2 separate regions of the Homo sapiens genome follow, and region 2 is linked to region 1. The links are contacts of gene promoters, found by promoter capture Hi-C in blood cells and fetal thymus (Javierre and others, 2016). All regions are on one chromosome and are shown on one strand. Each heading gives the region's core, a stretch centred on a gene start or on the middle of the fragment in contact. The rest is flanking DNA. Distances are from core to core; before and after follow the strand shown. Region 1 holds the start of POLR1A (RNA polymerase I subunit A). Region 2 overlaps ST3GAL5 (ST3 beta-galactoside alpha-2,3-sialyltransferase 5).

Region 1 (4,447 bases), core at 667-3,166:
CCTGATCAGAAAGGACTACCTCACTTAAAGCAATTACAACATAGGGAAGATGACCCATGGCTTCTCATTCCACTTCTTTCAACAATCAAGAATGTACCAAATACATAAGGCCTGATTTAGACTTGGAATTGCTGATATTTTCTATTTTCAGAGGTTCAATATGAAATCCTTTTTAAACCAAAATATAGAATCATTGGCCCATGACTGAGTTTTTAAGTGTTCTGTTTAAGTGTTCTGATCACACTAAAAACACAGTCAACACACCACAGATAATGTGACGGTTAGTATTATCTTGTGTTTCCCCTTACTAAATGGCATCAGTAACATTCAGAAAATTGTCAAGATGTGATTGCACAGACAGATACTTCCTCCAGTAGTATCTGGTTTCAGGTATCATTTAAAACAAGAATACCCCTCTACGTTAAGGACATTTCAGAAAGAGATCAACTCTTTCAAGTTTCTGAGATCAACTCTTTCAAGTCACACTATTTGTTTCTCATGACCTTAAAACAGAGATCACAGTTATTTTGAGAACGGATGCTGAGGAAGAGATTCTGCTTCAGGCAAAGAAAATGAGTAGAAAAATGCTAACGATGGCTACCAGGAAACGGAGGACTGGCATTGAATGGCAGCACAAAGGTTTCTGCAGTATCAGATGGAGTGGTTTCTCTTTCTTGAGGGGAACTAAGGGAGAGTACATATAAAAACATATTGTAAATTACATACCCCACTTATACCTCACAAACTTTTCGGATGGTTATTACCAACTCTAGTCTGCAGATGAGGAAATCTGTCTATTATCATCCAATTAAGTGAATGGCAAACACTAAACCTAAAATTAGGCTTTTAGCAAGTTTTCACTACAAATTACTGCCTCTCATATTCCCACAATGCCACTGTTTGTACTGAGTGAAAAAAAAATTACACAGATAGGTCATACATGTTCCAAGCTATAACTATCACAGATCAAAAGGGCATAGTCAGATCTTTTAGACTTTTCTGCTTTTACGAAAACCTGATAACTTCTTTAGCCAAAGTCCCCACGGTGGCGACCAGAGACTGCCTTTTATTTGGGAAGATCTTGTACGTTCTCCTCGCTCCTCCTGATTGGGTTAAAATGAGTAATGGCGGATAATTTTTAATTTGGGGTAGTGTTGCTAATAGCCACACTCACTGGAACGCAAGCTTCATGAGAGCAGGGTCCTAGCTTTGCGGATGGTGTTAACTACAGAATATTGCAAGCAACCAATAAGTATTTCTCTAATGAATAAATGCGTTGCGAATCCTATTTCAAAGGGCCACCTCCGCGTACCTGGTCTTAAGGGCACGCGACCGTTAAGGGCGCGCATGAGCAAACCATTTCATCGTGCCTACTTCCACAGCCAGCTGGGAAACATAGGACTAAGGTGACTCCGCGGTCTTCTTCGCGGATACCCTAAGCGTCTCTTACCTGCAGCTGCGTGCCTGTTCACACAAACCCGCCCGCCGACCCGTCAGCGGCTGGCCAAGCCTGCTGCGGAGGCCCAGCCAGCGAACAGCAGATACAACCGCCATCTTTGATTTCTCTGCAGAGCATGTTGGGAAAGCGTGCCTCGACCTTCAGGAAGGTGGGGCGCAGTGGGCGGGGAGCAGGGAACAGCTCCGCTATTGGCTGAAGCGGAAGAAGACGAAAGCAATCATAAAATGGGAGGTTGCAAGCTCATGGTTTGAAAGACTTCGTCACGGAAGCTAAAAGCTCTATACACCCGATTTGCCTCGGAGGAATTTTCCTAAATGATTATTTTGATGTCTTATATATCTTTGATTGTTTTCAAAACAAAAGAGCGAGCAGAGAGTCGTACAACTATTTGTTCCCCCCCCATGTAGAAGTGATCTCATCCACGTAAATGTCGTTCCTGCGACCGCTTCCGCGCGCAAGCGCACGTTGAATCGCGTGGTGACTCCGGGCTTGAGGTTGAATTAAGAATAGTCAGGTGGTGAGTGGAACGTCTCTTGGGGTGTCGGAATTCAAAACGGACCTGGAGGATGTTGATCTCCAAGAACATGCCCTGGCGGCGGCTGCAGGGCATTTCCTTCGGGATGTATTCGGCTGAAGAGCTCAAGTAAGGAGTTGGTCGGGTAGCGTGCCCAGCCTGGATCTTGAGGTCGGCGCCCTAAACTACGATTCCCAGAAGCGCTTTTGCCCAGTCTATCCTCTTGAGTCCAGGCTTGTCTGGCGCTTGTCCTGCTGGGAGCCGTAGTTCTGGGAACGTTCCTGGGCCGGCGTGGACTGCCTGGATAAGAGGCCGGTGGTGCTGGGGGAAAGAGTTTGCGCTGAGGTAGGGGAATATAAGGGTGGGGAGGGTCCTGGTCTGCAGCGTTATCATCTGCCAGTCTCCTCGTTAACTAACAAGCATTTGTGGAATTAACCATAGTGTACCTGACATGGTTAATTAGGCACGTAGTAAGTTTCCTCTTGTTTGTAAAATGATTGTCCTTCAAGTGTCAGTTCAGGCGTTAACTTCTCTTTGCTAGGACCCTGCTATATTCTCGGTCTGGTTGTTAAATCAAGGGAACTCTCTTTAGTCTTCATTTTGATCAAGGTAGCATTTGACATTCTCCAATGCACTCTCTTGAAACTTTCCTTTCTTCCAGAACCTTATTTGTCTTCAAGTTCTCCTATTTTTATGACAAATACTTCTACCTCCCTCTCTTCCTCTATCGATCTATAACCTCACAAACATTTATTGAGCATCCAGTTTTTTCCAGGCACCAAGCTAGGCGTTAATGACACATTGGTGAGCAAGGTCTGTACCTCATTTTACTCCTTAAATGTTGATGTTCTTCAAGATTCTATTCTAGTAATGTTTTCTTCATGGTAAATATTGTCCCTAGACAATCTCACCACTTTCATGATTTATAGTCTCAAATTTAAATCCCCAACGCAAATTTATTTCCCTGATTTTCAGACCCATTTGTTCAGCTGTCTGTACATCTTTAATTGAATTTCACACAGAGATCTTAAATGCATATCAAAAACTCAACATGGCCTAAATGCATATCAGAAACTCAACATGGCCGGGCACGGTGGCTCACGCCTGTAATCCCAGCACTTTGGGAGGCCGAGGCCGGCGGATCACGAGGTCGGGAGATCGAGACCATCCCTGGCCAACATGGTGAAACCCCGTCTCTACTAAAAATACAAAAATTAGCTGGGCGTGGTGGCGGGCACCTGTAGTCCCAGTTACTCGGGAGGCTGAGGCAGGAGAATCGCTTGAACCCAGGAGGCGGAGGTTGCAGTGAGCCGAGATTGTGCCACTGCACTCCAGCCTGGCGACAGAGCAATACTCTGTCTCAAAAAAAAAAAAAAAAAAACTCAACACGGCATCCCTCTTCAAAGGGAGGGGTTACTTACCCCTCCAAAATGGTGTACGTAGTGCAAAATAGTCACTAGAAACTGGAAAATTATTCTAGATCTCTCCTGACATATAACTTATTTATTGGGCTCTTACTTTGTGTCACCTACATGTCTATTTGTTCTTAGTCTCCTTTTTCTCCCAATTGCTACTGTGTTGCCTCTGGCCCTTATCTCATATTTGAATTGTCTTTTCCTTCCACCCTCCCCTTACACCTCTCAAGTGCATGCTCCACACTGCTGTCAAAATTATTCTTGCAAAGTGCAAATGTAGTCATGCTACTGTCACCCTTAAAACCCTCCAAATGTTCTCCATTTCCCTCAGATAAAGTATATTTTCTTAGCATAGCCTGCAAAGTCTCCCATGATCAGACCAATGCTGATTTTAGCTATAACATCATCCCTTCTTCAGCCCTATTAAACCACCTGCATATTCCAGAAACCGCCATCATATTTCAACATCTGGGCCTTTCTTTAAGCTATTCCCTCTGCATGCAGTGTCCTTTCAGCCAAAAGGAGGTACTTCCCTCTGTCCCCTACCCAACATACACACCTGAAAGCTCAGTTCACCTCCCTTGTTTTGTGAGGTCATTTTGCACATGATACAGTTGTCTGTCATGGTGCTTTAGTGACTTTTTGTGCTTATGTATATTTGTCTTCCTCCACTATCCTTGAGCTTCTTATATGTGTCACTCTTGTCTTTTATCCTCAAGTCTGAATAAATGGATGAATAAACTCCTGAGCCACAGCTCTGGTATCATTGGTAACAGTGTGCTAGCCCAGAAATTCCAATTATATCATCACTGCCATAAGTGGATACGATTTCATCCAAAAGCAGAAGTGTTTTAAGTTGCCTGAATTTTTAAAAAGATAATTGTGGAGTTTTCAAACAAGTTTAGAGTTGAGACATTTCAATAATACTGCCACCTTTTATTGTGCCAGGTTCTAATAGCTTCCCATCTCACTCAGAGTAAAAACCAAGTCTTTACAAATGGCCTGGAGGGGTCATTTCAGTCTCCTGTTACCTCTCTGATCTCACCTCTATTCTGGCTA
Region 2 (4,447 bases), core at 665-3,164, 240 kb after region 1:
TAAAACTGCCTTTTTCTTATATTTTTCAGTGTCAATAAATGTGAAGTACTGAGTACTTTAAGCTAGTGCTTCTCAAACTTTAATATGCATATGAATGTCCCAGGATCTCATTAAAATGCTGAGTCAGCAAGACTGGGGCGGGCCTGAGACTCTGCATTTCTAACCCACTTCCAGGTTACACTGATGCTGTCAGTCAGAGACCCTGCTGTGTAGCAAGATCTTAAGGACTGTAGAGTATTCATGTAGTTTGTGCTGTAATTTACCAACAAATTTCCTGCTGTTGGACATTTTTGATGTTTCATTTATTATTATTTTTTTGTAGAGGCAGGGTCTCACTGTGTTGCCCAGGCTGGTCTCAAACTCCTGGCCTCAAGTGATCATCCCATCCCCGTCTCCCAAAGGTGTGAGCTACCACACCCAGCCATTTTAGATGTTTCAATAGAGTTTATGCTTTATTCTTGCCATTATAATTTCTGTTAACATTCAGTTTTAGTTTTACTCTTAATCAGTATTGAGAAAATGCTTTTCTTGGAAGTTTATCTTGTTTGATGACAGGCTACAAACATGTAATGCACATTTCATTCCATTCGAGATGTTTCTTAAGGGGCTGCTGTGTGCCAATCTCTGTCCTAGGTTTTAGGGATACAAAGGTGAACAGAGTTCTGGCTCTGCAGCTCATTCCTCCAGGAGTCTGCAAAAGAAAATTCAGTTCATTGTGGTAAACAGAGATAGGGACGTGCCCAGGGATGGATGTGGTGGTGAAAAATGACCTCAGAGATAAGGAAAGAGATGCTTGAGCTGGGTTTAAGGATGAAAAGTAGCTCAGCAGGCAGATTATTGGGTGGGATTCCAGATTGTGAGCACATCCTGTGCAAAGGCACTGAAGTAACAATTTGGCACATCCAGGTTTCTAACAGTACTTCTTTGTGCAGTGTGATAGACAGGTTTGTCACATGGAGTCACAGAATCTGAAATAAGCTGGGAACCAGTAGGCAGATATGTATTTTTGAAAGACGGCTTTGAGGCGATAAAATTGAGATCAGGGCATTCGAGGTAAGTGACTTCTATTAAAGGCATGTAGTGAACAGGAAAAATTCAGGAGGTATTATTGGCAGGCCCTGGGGATTGACTGGGGTTGAGAATGAAAGTCTGGTTGACCTGCAGGTTTTCATCTTATGGCTGAACAGATGGTTCAGATACCAAAGAATGAAAGGAATAGAAGAAAATGCCAGGTTCCATTTAGGAATGTTGCTTGAGGTGAAGATAGCAAACAAGACATTAGGTATACAGGTCTGGGCTTAGGTGAGAGGTCCACATTAGAGAGATGGATTTGGTCTTCAGGGAGCCATTGTCACCCCTAGTCTGAAGCTTGTACTTGTCACAAAGTTACTGGAAGTGCCACAGCATCTGCTGCCTAAAAACCCAAGAATCCGAATGCACACGACTGCTGCAGGAGTCACATGTAGACACCTTCCCTTGCCTGCTACTACTGCTATCCAAAGCTTCACCAAGTCAGGGGAAAAGAAAGATTGCCTCCCAGTCTTTCACCAGCACATCCTAGGATCACAACTTTACGAGAAGCCAGCTGGTAAGAGAGAGTTCGGAAAATATTTACAGGCTTATAGTCTGACGGGCAGAGTAGAACAAGAGCCAGAGCACTGTCTGGCTCAGCAACAGAGCACCTGGAGGCGGAAGCCCTGGAGTCTTTCTCATACTCTTACCACAGTCATCTTTGTTCTCTGGAGGTCCACTTTGGTGTGAACTGAGTATCATTCCAGTCATCTCAGAAGTTTCCATTTTAAATATGCACAGGCTACAGGTAGCCTGCTGATTCCCACCACTTGGCTGACTGTACATGAAGTAACCACAGAATTGTGGTATTTGAAAACCTTCCAGGATCTCAGTTGTTCTAACTTCTCATTTAATAATTCAGCAGATTCTTCAGCAAAGGTTTATTAATAAGGCCCTCAACACTTATTGAAACTATTTTGATAGAATTATACATAATGATAAAAACTCTTGCTACACAGAATTAGAATTAAGGAGTTAAGGAAGAGATTGTTTACAGTAGCAGAAAAAAAAAACTTGAATGCCTGTTTAGTTTAAGATAAACAGATTTTTTTCAAAGAAGATGGTAAAACCCTAACGGGAAAAATGAAGTGAATAATGAATGAGATATAACTTCTTCCATCCAACTAAAAACTATAGTGAAGACATTATTTCTTAAATTAATATATGCATTTATTATAATAGTAACTAGTGCCTATATTAGTTAAGATATAATTTTGCCTTTAATTAACCATTCCTTAAACAAGACAGAAGCTTATTCCTCTATCATAGACCAGTCCAGAAGTAGAGTGGCAGCTCTCTGCCCTATGGGATTGTCCCAGGGGCCCCAGCTCCTTCTCTTGTTGTTCCACCATCCTTGAGTAATGTCCTCTCTGTGTGGTCCAGAGTGGCAGATCATGGTCCATATTTCAGTCAGGAGGCAGAGGGGATACAGGAGAAGCCAGAGTATGCCAAGGGAAGCACCTTGAGAATTGCACAGGATGCTTCTGCTCATATCCCATTGGCTAAAACTTAGTCTTGAGTCCTAGCTCCAAGGGAGACTGGGAAATGTAGTCTTCATTCTGGGAGGTACTATGCCCCACTAAAAATCCAGAGCTGTATTAAGTTGAGTTAGGGGAAAGCGAATATGGGGGAGACGGACCAATCCCTACTACAGTACTATTGGAATATTATTTAGAACTTGAAAATTGCTAATAAAATTATTTCAAAAGAATAAATAGGCAGGCACACAACATATTTTTTAAGAAAAGTGTTTTTAAATTGCCATATTCTCTCTTTTTCTTTTTTTTTTTTGATGTAACACTTCTGCTTTTAATGTAACTTTCTTTTTAAACTTTTTTATTATATAAATTTTAACCATACACAGAAGTGGGGAGAATTGTGTAGTGAGCCCTAGACCCATCTCCCAGGTTTAGTAAGTTATCAGCTTAAAGTTAGTTTTATCTATTCTCCCTGGCCCTCCACTTATCCCCTTCCTGAGTTCTTGAAGCAGATCTCATTTTTGCTATTTGATCTGTAGATATTTCTGTATGTAGCTCTAAAAGGTAAAAGGTCCTTTTTAAAAAAAATAAACTTTAAAGTTTAGGATAATTGTATTCACATGCGGTTGTAAAACATAATCTGGAGAGATTTTGTGTATGCTTTACTCATTTTCCCCCATGATAGCATCCTGCAAAACTATAGTACCATATCACAGCTGGAATCTGACATGGATACAGTCAAGATGTAGAACATCTCCATCCTCACAAGAGTCCTTCGTGTTGCCCTTTTATAGCCATATCTACCTATCTACCTCCCCTTCCACAACCCCTGACACTCACTAGTCTGTTCTCCCTTTCTATAATTTTGTCATTTTAAGAATGTTAAAAATCAGCCGGGTGCAGTGGCTCATGCATGTAATCCCAGCACTTTGGGAGGCCGAGGCAGGTGAATCACGAGGTCAGGAGTTCGACACCAGCCTGACTAACAGGGTGAAACCCTGTCTCTACTAAAAATACAAAAATTAGCCTGGCATGGTGGCATGCGCCTGTAATCCCAGCCACTCAGGAGGCTAAGGCAGGACAGTCACTCGAACCCAGGAGGCAGAGGTTGCAGTGAGCTGAGATCACGCCACTGCACTCCAGCCTGGGCAACAGAGCAAGACTCCGTCTCAGAAAAAAAAAAAAAAGAATGTTGAGAATCATACAGTATGTAACATTTTGGTATCAGCTCAGCATAGTTCCCTCTAGATTCACCCACTTTGTTGCATGTAACAACAGTTCATTCTTCTTTATTGCCAGTTACTATTCCATGGTATGGATGCAACATATAAAGGCTCTTTGAAAACCATAATCCATCCTCCTAACTCTCTCCTCTCTTTTTCCCCACTGCCCTCTTCGCCTCTCTTCACAGCAATGCCAAGTGAGTACACCTATGTGAAACTGAGAAGTGATTGCTCGAGGCCTTCCCTGCAATGGTACACCCGAGCTCAAAGCAAGATGAGAAGGCCCAGCTTGTTATTAAAAGACATCCTCAAGTAAGTACCGCCCCTGGGACTGTAGATCCCCCTGCTTTGGGTCAACTGTGTAGAACTAGGAGAAAAATTCAGTGAGAGCCCTCAAGATGGCTAATGTTGGAGAGGCATGCTTGGTCAAAGGATGCCTCAGACATTCAAAGGCACGTCTGAGTAAAGACTGAGTGCACAGCCGGAGTGAGCCTGTACAGCTGGCTGTATTTGGTAAGTGCACAGTGCCCAGTAGCTGCTCAGGCTCTCTACCTTGGCCTGGATGCCTGGGAGAGCAGCTCTCACCGTGCACTGCTCTTCATGCCCTTATTTAACAAAAGAGGGCTTTTCCCTTAGCTATTGTAAGTTAATCTAAAATATGGTTAATTAAATTTC

Evidence for each region. Contacts are between HindIII fragments. The CHiCAGO score rates a contact against its expected background, and 5 or more counts as called.
Region 2: a fragment that was not itself captured here is called in contact with the fragment with the promoter of POLR1A in region 1 in 16 of 17 cell types (total B cells, naive CD8 T cells, naive B cells and 13 more); the score reaches 15.6 in total B cells.

The regions. Positions count from the first base shown.
Region 1 is chr2:86,103,355-86,107,801 of GRCh38, reverse strand. POLR1A (RNA polymerase I subunit A) reads left to right here and starts at 1,916. Exons shown (of 34, transcript NM_015425.6): 1 at 1,916-2,102. The coding sequence starts at 2,026. It overlaps PTCD3 (pentatricopeptide repeat domain 3), which reads right to left and starts at 1,567. Exons shown (of 24, transcript NM_017952.6): 1 at 1,451-1,567. The coding sequence starts at 1,554. RefSeq lists enhancers at 1,257-1,516, 1,897-2,106, 2,307-2,396. The HindIII fragment of the contact is 4,349 bases long and covers 1,188-4,447 here.
Region 2 is chr2:85,862,999-85,867,445 of GRCh38, reverse strand. ST3GAL5 (ST3 beta-galactoside alpha-2,3-sialyltransferase 5) reads left to right here. Exons shown (of 7, transcript NM_003896.4): 2 at 3,961-4,084. Among named protein-coding and RNA genes, the nearest start is that of ST3GAL5, 24 kb to the left of the region's middle. The HindIII fragment of the contact is 820 bases long and covers 1,505-2,324 here.